5 separate regions of the Homo sapiens genome follow, and regions 1, 2, 3 and 4 are each linked to region 5. The links are contacts of gene promoters, found by promoter capture Hi-C in blood cells and fetal thymus (Javierre and others, 2016). All regions are on one chromosome and are shown on one strand. The core of a region is centred on a gene start or on the middle of the fragment in contact, and the rest is flanking DNA. Distances in the headings are between cores, read along the strand shown. Region 1 has its middle 44 kb from the start of TAF1B. Region 2 has its middle 36 kb from the start of ODC1-DT. Region 3 overlaps ODC1-DT (ODC1 divergent transcript). Region 4 has its middle 67 kb from the start of ODC1-DT. Region 5 holds the start of CYS1 (cystin 1).

The links. The method cuts DNA at HindIII sites, captures the fragments that hold promoters and counts their contacts. A CHiCAGO score of 5 or more calls a contact.
Region 1: a contact is called between a fragment that was not itself captured here and the fragment with the promoter of CYS1 in region 5, in 1 of 17 cell types (erythroblasts). The highest score is 7.2, in erythroblasts.
Region 2: a contact is called between a fragment that was not itself captured here and the fragment with the promoter of CYS1 in region 5, in 2 of 17 cell types (erythroblasts and naive CD8 T cells). The highest score is 5.4, in erythroblasts.
Region 3: a fragment that was not itself captured here is called in contact with the fragment with the promoter of CYS1 in region 5 in 9 of 17 cell types (neutrophils, naive CD4 T cells, naive B cells and 6 more); the score reaches 12.6 in neutrophils.
Region 4: a contact is called between a fragment that was not itself captured here and the fragment with the promoter of CYS1 in region 5, in 4 of 17 cell types (total CD8 T cells, naive CD8 T cells, endothelial precursors and 1 more). The highest score is 6.9, in total CD8 T cells.

Annotation. Positions count from the first base shown.
Region 1 is chr2:9,797,992-9,800,748 of GRCh38, reverse strand. No RefSeq gene overlaps it. Among named protein-coding and RNA genes, the nearest start is that of TAF1B, 44 kb to the left of the region's middle. RefSeq lists enhancers at 1-97, 98-933. The HindIII fragment of the contact is 2,587 bases long and covers 10-2,596 here.
Region 2 is chr2:10,484,750-10,487,649 of GRCh38, reverse strand. No RefSeq gene overlaps it. Among named protein-coding and RNA genes, the nearest start is that of ODC1-DT, 36 kb to the right of the region's middle. RefSeq lists enhancers at 1-3, 4-514. The HindIII fragment of the contact is 1,786 bases long and covers 486-2,271 here.
Region 3 is chr2:10,450,328-10,453,376 of GRCh38, reverse strand. ODC1-DT (ODC1 divergent transcript) reads right to left here. Exons shown (of 5, transcript NR_110597.1): 3 at 908-1,096. Among named protein-coding and RNA genes, the nearest start is that of ODC1-DT, 2.1 kb to the right of the region's middle. The HindIII fragment of the contact is 3,130 bases long and covers 235-3,049 here.
Region 4 is chr2:10,515,520-10,518,363 of GRCh38, reverse strand. No RefSeq gene overlaps it. Among named protein-coding and RNA genes, the nearest start is that of ODC1-DT, 67 kb to the right of the region's middle. The HindIII fragment of the contact is 1,186 bases long and covers 900-2,085 here.
Region 5 is chr2:10,078,996-10,081,695 of GRCh38, reverse strand. CYS1 (cystin 1) reads left to right here and starts at 1,285. Exons shown (of 3, transcript NM_001037160.3): 1 at 1,285-1,790. The coding sequence starts at 1,473. RefSeq lists silencers at 971-1,210, 1,381-1,440, 1,501-1,740, 1,811-2,150. The HindIII fragment of the contact is 11,698 bases long and covers 1-2,700 here.

The sequences.
Region 1 (2,757 bases), core at 54-2,553, 280 kb after region 5:
CTGAAAGCTTAGACTAAGGGTCTCTTAGGCTTCTGCCAGTGAGGAGTCCAAAAGGGACAAGAGGCTTCAAAAAGAGGACAAGCCCCCAGTGGACTCCACTCAAGCTGGGCTCCGAGAGGCTTAGGAGGCTTCCAGGTTCCACTGGCAGTGGGTATGAAAATCCCTTTGCTACAAGTATTCTGAAGCCATGCCTGAATTTCTCCCATTCATTCACTCATTCATTCACTCTTCATTCATTCATTCATTCATTCATTCATTCATTCATTCATGCCTGCCTGCTCATCTATGCTTGAGTGGAACAGGCCCAGCTGATGTCCTGTGTGTACCCGGCACAGCTGCCACAGCTCCCAGCCCATCCACTCTGCCAGCCCACCTGGCCCCACAGGGCCAGGCCTGCAGGTGTCCTCTCCCAGGCAGGGGGCAGAGGAGGCAGCTCACTTCAAAGGGCCCCTGGCTTTGCCTGGGTCACAGTCTGGAGCTCCCCACTAAGAGCCGAGAAGCGTGGCCCTACAGAGGGTCCCAAAGCCTGAGGAAGGGAAGATAGGGAACTGCCCAGAATTGGGTAGCACTACTTCCCCATTTTACAGACGAGGAAACTACAACTTAGAGAGAAGAGGTTTCTGGCCCAAAGTCACACAAAGTCAAAATTGGACCCTGGTCAACATGGAAGGGGAGGGAGTGGAAAAGAGATGGCAGGGGAATGGAAGGGAAGGAAGAGAAAAGAAGTCTCTGGAATCGGCATGGGAAATGAAGAGACTCCCCCAAGGCCCTGTCCTCATTTACCCTCTGCGCCTGGCCCTTCCCTGCCCTGCCGGCTGGATGTCCAGGGACCCACCCAGCCCGACCTGCTCTCTGCCGCGCTGCTCACACTCGGCTGCTGTGCGCTCCTGCCCTCTGGTGGCAAGATCTGGAAGCGCGTTGTCACTGCATCCCAGCACCTCTAGAGGGGAAACTAGGAGCAAGTCAGTTCACCACCCACTGTGTGCAAGACACTGAGCTGGAGACCTAGGGAGGAGGGAACACAGCCCCGTTTCTGAGAGTGCAAAGTTTAGGGGACAAGACAGACAGGCAAACAGACCACGGCAACACAATGAGATAGGGACTTGGCTGGGGGAAGCTCAGGTTGTTTTAAACCTAAAACAAGCAGCCCCCAAATCTATGAGGAAGAGCCTGCCTAGCAGAAGGTCCCACCATGCCCAGGAACATTTGGGCAGCACCTGCTCTGAGGGCTCTGGGCTGCCTGGCTGGGGTGGGACAGACCCAGAGTCCTTTCTGATCTGTCTGCAGCGAGAGCCCTGGAGCCAGAGGGGACCCGAGGAGGTTTGCAGGCTGTGGTCTGGGCAGGAAGGAAGGGCTGAGGTCCCCACCCTTCTTCTCCCTTTCTTAACCTAGTGCAGACCCAGCTGAAGCCAGCCTCACAGGGTTAACAAGAACTGCGGACAGTCATATAGCTATAATTAAGCATTCATCAGGCTGTACTTTGACCCACTTCCTTGTAACCAAAAGTCACGTAGCCCTAGGTACGGACAGTTCACATCCCCATGGTTCCTATTGATAGGATCTCTGACCTTAGAATCATAGGAATTTTGTTTAAGAATTGCTTAAGCAGATCCTGAATTCCATCAGAACAGCTGATGCCAACCAGCTCGAAGACCCCCACAGAGGAACGGAATCCGCGTGACAGTGAGGTTTCTTCATCTCCTTGTCCCGTGACTGCACTCTTCGACCAATCAAGGACCTCCACACTTTGACCCACTTCAAAACCCTTAAAAATTCGAGCCCCGAACTCCCTGGGGAGATGATGGATTGGGGGTTTCCTCCCATCTCCTCACTTGGTGGCCCTGCATTGATTAGACCTCTCTCTCTGCTGCAATGCGGCATCTTGCATATTGACTTCCTGCACGGGTCAGGCCATGAACCTATTACGGTTCCAGAGCTTCAGGCTGGAGAGGCAGAGTGACAAGAGGGTTCAGTAGAAGGCTGGGAGCCAGACTGCCTGGGGTCTTAACAGCAATTGCGTCCTCTGGGCTTCAGTTTTCTCTTGTGTGAAAAGGTAATAAGAACAGTGCCCACCTCTGAGGGTCGCCCTGAGGGTTAAACACACTGATACAGAGAAAGTGGGCAGAATGGTGTTTGGCCCATGGTCAGGGCTGATCATATCTGCTCTTGCCAATAATGCCAACTCACCAGCATCCAGCCCTCCTTTCTTTGGAAGAGTTTCCCATCTCACTCTCATGGCAGATAGTACCACCCAGAGTAGGTGCAGAGGCCCAGAGAGAGGAGGTGTCTCACGTGAGGTCACTGGGCGAGCAGCAACTGTGTTGAGCCTGGCACCCAGGCCTCTGGGCCTAGAGGTTGCAGCCTGGATTCCCAGCCCCCTTGTGTACCTTCTGGGCATCCCTGACTTCCGAGTCCCTGAACTGCCCTCCTCAGTGAGGAGTCTACTTTGCTACTTATTAACAGACTCTCTCACAGGACTGCTGGGCAGGTGCAGCCAGTTTCAGAGTCGCAGCATCCATAGCATTTGCTGAAGCATTGGCTACAGGCAACACCTGTATTGCATTTGTCTTCCTGGAAGATAATGAGCTCTAAAGCTTCACTGTGAAAAGTGTGGTCCCTGAGCCAGCAGCATTGGCCTCACCTGGGAGCTGGTTAGAACTGCACAATCATAGGCCCCTCCCAGACCTACAGAACTGGAATCTGCAGTTTAATGAGAGCCCCAGGCAGTATGTGTGCACCTTACCGATTGCCAGGGAA
Region 2 (2,900 bases), core at 129-2,628, 410 kb before region 5:
GTGAGGCCAGCCAGAAAACCGGAATCAGATGAGGGGCCTGAGCCCCCTGCTAACTCTCCCTGGGGAGCCGGAGGAAAGAACTGGCTCCAGGAACAGGCGCAGAGAGGGAAGCCAGGCATCGGGGGTTGTGGCAGACAGGGACCTCCAGGGCTGCCTCAGGTGGAGGTAGGTGCTTTCAACGCATTTCAGCTAAAAGAACAGGTAATCCCACAGCATCATTCTCCCCTTGACCTTTCAAAGCCCCTAATCTGATGGCATACCTGTATGTGGATCACTGACGATGCTTTTCAAGGTTGAGCAATTTGTTCATATTTACTCTGTGGTTGGGTGTGAAAACACCAGGTCAAGGATAACATCGCGGCTGTTTGTTCGCCTCATGGGAGAAGGAGCTGAGGGCCTTTCTGCAAGCACAGGATTGATGGTGATCCTGAGTCACGAACAGGCAAATGGGAGAGGCTTTTGAATTGGGGCGTTAGGGAGAAGCTTGAGTTATGTAATAGAAGCATGGTGAGCTGTCCTTGATACGATTACCACTCTCAGTAATTATTATTATTTGACCTACGCAGACAAATCCAATTAAATAAGAATTGTTTTGCAATCGAATTGTTCGGAGGACAGCAGAGAGCTCCCTCTGCATGGTGAGAAAATTCCCCTGGGTTTGCACTACATTCGGTGGTTTCTCAAGCAGCCCCACCTATATGGCTGCTTTTAGATTTTGATCCACAAAACCAAATGTGTGAAGAAGGCCAGGCATGATTCCCCCCATTTTGTGACCAAGGGGTTTGAGGCTCAGAGAGGCCAAGTGACTTGCCCAGGGTCACACAGCATGAACAGAACACAGGCAGGGCTGGGTGGGTCTCCTAGCCTCCATTTCAGACTTTGCTCTGCCAGTGCTGGCTAGGCTCCAGCAGCATTGTTAGGCGGCATTGTCCTGGGTGGGAGGAGCAGCAGGTGCTGGAAAGCACAGGAACTTCAGATTAAATAAAATATTGTAATGCTGGTTCCCATAACGGGCCCCATGGGATGTTGGTGAATCCTGGGTCCTGTCCTCAAGCCGTGCAAAGCCTGTGAGGCTCAACCCTCCACTGAACTCCAAGCAGGCTGTGCTGGGAGAGCCCTGGACACTTTGTGCCTGTAAAAGCGACTCAAGATTCTTGTTACTGGCATTCCAAAATGTAAATGTGCTTTTTCTCCTGATTATAACAGCACGGCAAGTTCATTGGAAAATTTCTGAAAATACAGAAAACTATGAGTAATAATATAAAAATCACCCAAACTTCTATTAACATTATATACAGTATTTCCTTTCTGTGGTTTGTCATGTATAGATGAGTATTTCTTGTTTTAAAGACTAGGTTGATGCTATACATGGTTTTGTATACTGAGGGGTTTTTTTCACTTTAACTTACTTCATGATTCTCTTACCATGATGCTAGTCATTGAATATATAATATTTTCAATAATACACTATTCCATCATATGCAAAAAGCCTTTTGCTTAGTTTTTGTCTTTGAAAAACCACAGACATGAATTAAAATCAGAAAGAATGAGTGACAGACTATATGCAGGTGCACATTTACAAGCATAAAAGTATCTTCTTCAAAAACAAAGGGAAAACAATTTTTGAAAAATCACACATGCATGTGGGCGCGCACACACACACACACACACACACACACACACACACTCCAATTAAGCCTAAAAGACATTTGACAAAATGTAACATCTTTTCTTTAAAAACCTCTATGATAGATTATGGAAACGATTTGGAAATATAAGGCATTCACCAAGAACCAACAGAGGATATTTTTCTAAAGAGTGAAACTCTAGAACCAGTTCATTTAAATCAGGAACTGTACAAGGGTGATAATATGACCATTATTATTATTGAATATTGTCGTGGTTCCAGCGAATGCAATAACATCAAAAGCCTATAAAACCATTTTGAGACCTTGGAAAACAAGAAATAAATTTGTCTATTTTTGTGGATGATATGACTATGCACTTAGAAAACTCAAGAGATTAGTAAAAGTAACTAGAAATTATCAATGAGTATTGGTGACATTGCTAGATACTAGATAATTAGACAAATTATACAAATACTGACAGCTTCTGTCTATTCTAGTCATAAGCAACTAAAATGGAAAAAAGTGTATTTACAATAGCAACCAAAGCTATGAAGTGTTCAGAAATAAAATGTAACAAGAAAGAATAATGTCCTATGTAAACTCTAATTGGATGGCATAAAGCAGACTGAATGAAGAGAAAGCTTGGATGGGAATGCATATGTTTAACTTAAAGTACCCCTCCTAGAATTAATGTATAAAGTTAATGCAACTTCAAATAGAATTCTGATGGAGTACTTTTTTCTTTTATTTATATATTATATACTTAATATATATATTATATTATATATTTTTTCTTTTATGCACATATTTTATAGAGATGGGGCTCTCACTTTGTTGCTCGGGTTGGTCTCAAACTCCTGGCCTCAAGCAATCCTCTTACCTCAGCCTCCCAAAGTGCTGGGATTACAAGTGTAAACCCTAATACCTGGCCAAGTATTTTTTAAGAGGCAGAGAATTGGATAAAATTATCATAAAGCTTGTTGGGGAAAATTAATTCCTAAGAAATAAAACCTTTTGAAATAGAATCATTGGGGGAATTTGCATTTTCAGATCAAGACATGCCCGAAAGCCACTCTATTCAAAGTAACAGACTGTTGGCATTGGAATAGAAAGCTAGTTCTAGAACCAAACAGAGAAAGCAGAAATAGATCCCAGTACATTTAAGATTCTAACACATGAAGAAGATGTTCTTTTTCACTAATGGGAAAAGATAGATTACTTGGTCCTCAATCTTACAATTTATAAAATGATGGATTTTGACAAAGACATCAA
Region 3 (3,049 bases), core at 550-3,049, 370 kb before region 5:
GCAGGAAACAAAGGTGCCCACACCACGTGACCCACGTTACGATGGCAGGGGCAGGGTCTGTGGAACATCAGTGGCTCAGGGAGCTGGAGTGGCAAAAGAGGCTGGGAGGGTGGGCAGGGCAGGCCTCAGAGGGTCCTGGGTGCCAGGCTAAGGTGTTTGGACTTTACTCTGTGGACCCAGGGCCACCAGTGAAGGGCTTGAAACAGACAAGCCAAGTAGGCAGATGGCAAAGCTTCTGTCCACGTGTCGGATGGCATGTCTGAATACTGACTCGGTACAGGCTTAATGGGACTCTGACTTCTGCCCACTGAAAAAGACAAGGAAGTGGGAAGCAAAATAATGATAAACATCACTTTCCCCATGAAAATGAACTCCTCCAGGCCGGGTGCGGCGGCTCACACCTGTAATCCCAACACTTTGGGAGGCTGAGACGGGCGGATCATTTGAGGTCGGGAATTTGAGACCAGCCTGGCCAACATGGCGAAAACCTGTCTCTACTAAAAATACAAAAAATTAGCCAGGAGTGGTGGTGCACGCCTGTAGTCCCAGCTACTCAGGAGGCTGAGGCATAAGAATAACTTGAACCCAGGAGGCAGAGGCTGCAGTGAGCCAAGATTGTGCCACTGCACCACTCCAGCCTGGGTGACAGAGTAAGACTGTGTCTCAAAAAAAAAAAAAAAAAGTACTCTTCCAAACTCTCAGCCTCCAGACAAGGGCCCCCTCTTCTCTGCAACTGTGTGTGCCCACTGACCTGCCCCCAGGGCCCTTCTGGGCTCCAGGAGGCCCTGGCCTAGTTCCTATTTGGCTCCTTTCCCAGCAGCTTCCCAGTGAGCCACACCAGGGCTGGGGCAAGGTAGGGCCGTGATGTAACACTTTATAAAACAAACATCCTGGGACTTCCACTTACACATGGGCGTCCTCTGCTTCCAGCAGATCCTTTTGGAGGAGCTCCACTTTTCTGATGATGCCACCATTGCTCAGAGGAAGGAAGGCCTCCCTGAAAGCTGCTTTCTATGCCTCAGGCACGCCATTTGGATTATGGGCAGAGATGGCACACTTTCCACCTTGGAGGGTGGATTGGATTTTTCGGAAACACCTAAAACCATTCAAAGGGCAAGGTTAAAGGACTGGTGAGTGACTGAGCTAAGGAAAACTATTTTTGGCCAAACATCCAGATGGGACTAGAGCATCTGTGACTAGTCCCCATTACCCAGGTGTCCTGAGTTAGGGCACCCTTGCCAGGGCAGAAGCTAACCTCCCAAAGTCCTCATGGGGCTGGAGGTCATGAGCCTCACTCCACAGTCCACTCTTCTATGCTTCTGGAAGAAGTTTGGTGAAGTAGAGTACAACCACGGACACGTAAGCAGCGCCCAAACCCATTTTCCAGAAAGCTCTCAATGTCAAACTTTCCAATACTGAGTAAATGGATACACAAATGCTTGCTGGTTATTGTCTTCTATGTGACCTACTTCTTTTTGATAAGGGTGAGGCCAGGCGCGGTGGCTCACGCCTATCATCCCAGCACTTTGGGAGGCCAAGGCAGGCAGATCACTTGAGGTCAGGAGTTTGAGACCAGCCTGGCCAACATGGTGAAACCCCATCTCTACTAAAAATAGAGAAATCAGCTGGATGTGGTGGTGGGCGCCTGGATTCCCAGCTACTCAGGAGGCTGAGGCAGGAGAATTGCTTGAAACTGGGAGGCAGAGGTTGCAGTGAGCCAGTATTGCGCCACTGCACTCCAGCCTGGGCAACAGAGCAAGCCTCTTGACTCAAATAATAATAATAATAATGATAAGGGTGACTGCTTAAGTCTGCAATCACTATATACCTTTATAAGCCTTTTCATGTAAGTTAGCAAAGAAGAAAAAAGATACTTCCTTCATCAGACATGTTTTTGGTTTTGGTTTAGAAAACTTGGTCAGTGGATTTATACAGAACTCTGTGAAATAAGTAGATTCTTAGAACATTAGAAGGAAAGAAGAACCTGAGCTTTCAGCCAGTCCAACCACCCCATTTTCAGAAAGGTAGTCTGGAACCCAGAGAGACAGAGTGATGTCCAAACTTTCATAATGAGCGGGGCAGAGCGGCGGGGGGGTGGTAAGGGGGCCCAAGGAATCCTAAGAAAATGGGAGTTGGTCCCAGAACTTAGGTGAGATGACTAAGCTCTTAGAAGCATGTCCAGTGTAGTATCTAATGTTTTTATTCACTCTTTTAGCACCACACATAGAAGTCTCATCTCTGGCCAGGCACAGTGGCTCACGCCTGTCATCCCAGCACTTTGGGAGGCCGAGGTGGGTGGATCACTTGAGGTCAGGAGTTTGAGATCAGCCTAGCCAACATGGCGAAACCCCATCTCTACTAAAAATGCAAAAATTAGCTGGGCACGGTGGTACATGCCCGTAATCCCAGCTACTCAGGAGGCCGAGGCATGAGAATCGCTTGAGCCTGGGAGGCAGAGGTTGCAGTGAGACGAGATCACGTCACTGCACTCCAGCCTGGGCAACAGAGTGAGACTCTCAGAAAAAAAAAATAAAAAAGAAATCTCATCTCCACATGAGGGTGATTCCTAAGTGCGTGGCATCACGTATTTTTTTTACAAAGATCTGTTGCTTGTTTCCGAAGAAAAGAAAATAGTAATGGAGAGGATGAAGTTTACTGAAAATACATTGAAAGACAATAAAGTCATGCATTTTAAGTAAGGCCAGGTTTAGTCACCACCACCTGAGCTTCTGGAATCCAGCTGAGTGGTTGGGTTTCACAACTCCAGCCTTGCTGTCCACAGTTCTGCTGCCCAGGGCCTCTGCGGGTCTTCCTGCAGCCGCAGAGCAGAGCTCCGGGGAAGGAGCAGGCCTCCTTCCCTCCTTCTATTTCCCCTGCTGGGCTCTCCAGGCAAGGGCTCACCTTCCCAGCATGCGGGCAGGAGTTTGGGCTTTGGGGTGGGCTGGCGGGAGAGGAAGGTATGTGGGCGATAGCAGTGTGAGTGGCTTGTATGTGCAACAGTCAGAGCCCTCCTGGCTCCCTGAGCCAAGAACTGGCCTCTACGTTCCAG
Region 4 (2,844 bases), core at 243-2,742, 440 kb before region 5:
CGTGTGTGGTGTGTGTGTAGTATATGTGTGTGGTGTGTGTGTAGTGTGTCTGGTGTGTGTGGTGTATGTGTGTGTCGTGTGTGTGTGGTGTGTGTGTGTGGTGTGTGTGTAGTATATGTGTGTGGTGTGTGTGTAGTGTGTCTGTGTTGTGTGTTGTGTATGTGTATGTCGTGTGTGTGGTGTGTGTGTAGTATGTGTGTGGTGTATGTGTGTGTCCTGTGTGTGGTGTGTGGTGTATATGTGTGTGGTGTGTGTGTGCACGTGTGGTGTGTGTTCTGTCAGGAAACCTGTCCTTCCACTTTGAAGCCCACTTTCTGGAGGCTCCCAACAAGGCAGGCTTTTTCTGTATGTTGACTTTGTGCTGCTTTGCTGGAAAGTGGGCAGTGGGCACAGCAAGCTCCAAGCTCATGGCTCTGGGTTGCTTTCCACAGCCAGTCTCCCCTCTGCCTTTCCAGCATGCTCCTGACTGTGTCCAGTGTCCAAGGGGAGCACCGCGAATGGTCTGAACTGACCGTGACAGTCTGATTCCATTTTGCCACCTGTTCCTCAAGCCTTCCCACAGCCGGCAACAGGCATGTGACTGAGTCTTGGACAATGAGATACATTGTGAGGGGTCTGCTGGGAGGCCTTTGGGGAACCATTGGCCTCCCTATAAAAGGGACAGATGTGACTGGTGCTCTTTCCTCTTTTTCCTGTCTTAAACATGGACATAATGCCTAACATTATGGTGGCCATTATGTAACTATGAGGCGATAAGCATGAGGAAGCGTTAGAATCCCAGATAAGAAACATGCAAAGAGCTTTGACCCTCCCCTGCCCGCTAGGGCATTCCTGAGCAGGTGAACCAATACCACCAACTGTCTATCTTTAGACTTCTTGTTATGTAAGAAAAATAAGCTTCTATTTGTCACATTGCTACTACTTGTAGTGGAAAGCATTCCTAACTGATTCATCCTGTACATTTAAAACCGCTAAAATTCTCGAAAGTTGGTTTTGTAGTTTTTATGGCTTCAGGTTGTTTAACCTGAGCAAGAACCAACCATATCTGATGTAGCAAGAAGAATGTCATGTTTCATTTCAAGGAGACTTGTCTCCTTCCACAATTTTCCAAGATTTAGTGCACTGCCAATAGATTAATCACTGTGCTTAGAAGAAAATTCACCTGTCAGAATTTCAAGCCGAGAATCAGAATCCCAATCCCAGAATCCATGTAAGGCTGAGAACCAACCAGAAGATCTTTAGCCCATTATGCTAGAACTCTAAAGGGTTACACACCCAGGATTAGCATGAACCCGAAGTAAATTTTTGCATTCTCTCCCTCAAACCCCCCTTTAGAAATAACAAGGAAATGTTTCTTGGCACTGAGGAGAGCGGGAGAAAAGCTCATCTCTGTGAAGCTGTATCCAAACACTGACCCTTGTGCAGACTGGTACCCAAATTCACACCCCCTGAATGGCCCAGAAATTTTCCAGGAACAAATTCAGATGAAGGTGATCTTGGAGTGGAAGTGTCCCTAGGTGCATGGCAGATGCAAGTGCAAATTCTTTCAGGCAGATGTCACATTCATCCGAGATCTCAAAGAATTATCATCAAGTAATATCTCAAGAAAGTAAGCAGGCTGGCCATGGTGGCTTATGCCTGTAATCCTAGCATTTCGGGAGGCCGAGGCGGGTGGATCACGAGGTCAAGAGATTGAGACCATCCTGGCCAACATGGTGAAGCCCCCGTCTCTACTAAAAATACAAAAATTAGCTGGGTGTAGTGGAGCATGCCCGTAGTTTCAGCTACTCGGGAGGCTGAGGCAGGAGAATCGCTTGAACCCAGGAGGCGGAGGTTTCAGTGAGTCAAGATTGCGCCACTGCACTTCAGCCTGGTGATAGAGTGAGACTCCATCTCAAAAAAAAGAAAAAAGAAAAGAAAGCAAGCAGCACTTAGTGAAAAATAAGGAAGCACACAAGGAAATAAGGCAACATGAGCATGAATAAGCAGAAAAAACAAACAGCTAAACTACTCCCAAATATTTCATATAATGAAATAATAGGAAAGAAATTATACAATTGTTATGTTGAAAAAACAATACAAGCTTAAAGATATTTGCAGGAAACAGAGAACTATGAAAAAACTGATTTGGCAGGTTTTTCGAAAATCAAATAGATCTTTCTTATAAAAATGAAAAATATAATAACTGAAACTTTAAATTTAATAGGTGGATTTAATAGGAAATTAGATATAGGCAAAGAGAGAATTAGTGAACTGGAAGATGGGTCAGAAAAAATTATCCAAATGATAGCACAGAACAACAGAAAGATGAAAATCATGAAAAAGAGGAGGATAGAGTGAGAAGGTCTAAATACATTTAGGGGGTATTCCAGAAGGAGAAGCAAGGGAGATGGGGGCAAAATTATTATTTAAAGAGATAATGTCTGATAATTTTTTGGAATGAACCAAAAGATGTCAATCCATACATTAAAGAAGCTCAACAAATGCCAAGGACAAAAAATAAAAATAAAAGTGAAAAAAATGTTCGAACTGAGTGGCTATCACAAATCTGTCTCTTACTGGCAGGGTGACCCAATGGTGTGTCCAAGGGGCTGATATTACTCATCCAATCCTGGAACATGGAGCTCTGAGCTCTTGCAGGGGATGAGCAAAGCAAGTATAAGTGCAATAATGGGCTCTGTGAGGCCCACTCCTTCTGGCCTGATCTAGGTCTGTTGGTACCATAAACAGAATGATGGTGGAGGTACCAGCGCATTTTTAACCTCCTTCTGTTTATTATATATAACATAGGAGGGATGGACAAATGATGGAAAACCCATTCCTCCAAGGTGAGATTTTTTTCAA
Region 5 (2,700 bases), core at 36-2,535:
TTTTTGTATTTTTAGTAGAGACGGTGTTTCACCGTGTTAGCCAGGATGGTCTCGGTCTCTTGACCTCGTGATCCACCTGCCTCGGCTTCCCAAAGTGCTGGGATTACGGGCGTGAGCCACCGCGCCCGGCCTCTTGTTCTCTCTTAATAATAAAAATAAATGGATGTGAATCTGAGTCCCATTTTTATTCCATTTTCTTAGGCATATGTTTTTTAATGTCTACTCCTGAAGTGATAAAATAGTAGAATTTCAAGTCTGTGGTTGGGAAAGTTTAGCCGAAATTCCATTTTCACAATTATTCTGGAATCCAATCAATCAGGATAAAAGTTAATGTCAAGTCAAGATAGGTGAGTTAAACCCAGGACTTTTGAATTGCCCTGTCTTGGAAAGGCTGGAATTTAAAGTTGCAGGAGGTGGGCAAGGGAAGGAAGTAATCACATTTAAGTAAAACACAGAACCAACCAACAGGAAGGCTCGCTGGGTTTGAATTCGGCAGCTTTGGAGTGTTTTCTAGTCTGGGTTGTGGTTAGTTCACTTAAAAAGAAAAGCGGTTAAGGGAAAAAAAAAAAAAATCCGAGACCAAAAGCTAGACTTATGACCACCACCTAGGTATTTCCTTTTGCTTCTTTCCTGTGGCGGGGGGAGGGCGAGGTGGGGGTTGCTTTGCCTTTCTCCTTCATTTTCAAAGTTTTTCTTTCCCAAAAGTAGTGACTATTTGGAGGTTTTGATGAGGCTCAACCTTCACACATCCAGTCTCCGCTGGGGCAACAGAGGGAAGGAGAAGGCCGGAGGGGGCTGTTGGTGCCCGGAGGATCGCCCCTTCCCTCCCGGGGCGTCTCAGGCCTGGCGGACACTGAAAGGTCGGGGCGCACTGACGGCCGGACCTCGCGAACGCAGCGCGCGCAGCCCTCAGGGTCTTTCCCCCGCCCACCCCGCGCATCGCTAGGGGGCTCAGGCTTTGGGAAGTCCCCCCAAGCTCCCGCGGCCTCCCACGGGCCCGGCGAGCGTCGTCTGGGGAGCGTTTCCATAAATGAACAAACTCAGCCGGGCCCCCCGCAGGGTTCAGCAATTCCAGAAGGCCGGGACAGGGCTGACCCGACGGCGGGGAGCGAGGGGACCCGTGGGCGGGAGTGGGGGGACTGTAGGGGGAGACCCGGGAGGGGAGGCCGCGCCCGCACCCGGTGCTCCTCGCCGGGGTCTCGGGCCCGCCCCTCCCTAGGGCCGGTGTGCGCCCCCTCGGGACGCCTATGCAGCCCTGCCTCGCCCGCCCCTCCCCAGGCTCCGGCTCGCACCCCCGTCCTCCGGCCGCGACCCCCGCCCGGGAACCCTAGCCCCTGGCCGCGGTCGCTTCCCGGACCTCGCCCCGCGCCTCCCCCTGCAGCCCGCCCCGGCCGCACCCCCTAGCGTCCCCGCCCCCGGCCGCGCCCCCTCATGGGGGCCCCCTCGGCGGTCCGGGAGGCGGCGGGCGCGCCATGGGCAGCGGCAGCAGCCGGAGCAGCCGGACTCTGAGGCGGCGGCGCAGCCCCGAGAGCCTCCCCGCGGGGCCCGGAGCGGCAGCCCTGGAGGGCGGGACCCGCCGGCGGGTGCCGGTGGCGGCGGCCGAGGTCCCGGGGGCAGCCGCGGAGGAGGCGCCCGGCCGCGACCCCAGCCCCGTGGCGCCCCCCGACGGCAGGGACGAGACGCTGCGCCTGCTGGACGAGCTGCTGGCCGAGTCGGCGGCCTGGGGCCCCCCGGAGCCCGCCCCGCGCCGCCCAGCCCGGCTCCGACCCACCGCGGTCGCGGGGAGCGCGGTGAGTGTGGGAGCCGCAGGGCCTCGGGGGACGGCGGGGACCCCACTCACCGGCCGCGCGTCCCCGCCCCAGCCCTGGGCGCCGGTCGCGCTGCGCCCCCTTCCAGCCTCCGACTTGCGTGCTCCCCGCTGCCCCGGCCTCCCCGCCCCTGGGCCCCCAGGTTTCCTCCCTCTCTGCCCCGTCTCCGGGTCTGTGTCCAGGCGTGGGGGCGATCGCGCTGGGAGCGGCCGAGGAAGGACACCCCTAGGCGGAGCGCGCCGGGCTCCCGGCTCCCCTCGGGCCCGCGGCCCCGCCTGGCCTTCCCGGGCCGCCCTGGAGCGGGGCGCCGGCGGTGGTGGCACGGCAGCCAGACGGTGGCTCAGAAGCGCCCTGCCGCGCCCACCGGTCCAGATCCTTGCCTTGCTGGGCAGGCAATTCTCATGTTACTGATATTTTTAGGATGCTGCGGAATCTCTTTTGCGCTTCCTATTCTCTCTCCCTGAATACTCGTAATAACAGTCCTGCTGTTCTAAAAAAACAATAAAACAAGCACTCTGGTTTGGCAACCGTCTTCGCTCCAGCAGAGCTGAATGAACAAGATCTTTAACATCCGCTCCCGGGCTCGGGGAGGATGCCAAGGGCCTCGTCCTCCTCCCTGAGGCCCGGGAGGCTTTGCTTAGCAGCCGCTGGGAGCCGAGGAAGATGCCTTCCTGGGTGGCTACCGCACCAAGGAATCCTGAAAAGGCCCCAGGGAGGGTGGGGGAGAGGGACAGCCCCAGGCGACAGTGCACAGAGCTCTCTCCCTCTGGCCCTGGTTCCCTGCTCCTCTCCCTTACGGTCTTTAAAGAGGAAAAGCGAGCTGCAGTGAGTAGGGCTGAATTATATAACAAGATTCCTTTAATACCACATCAGCCTGCAGTTATATAACACT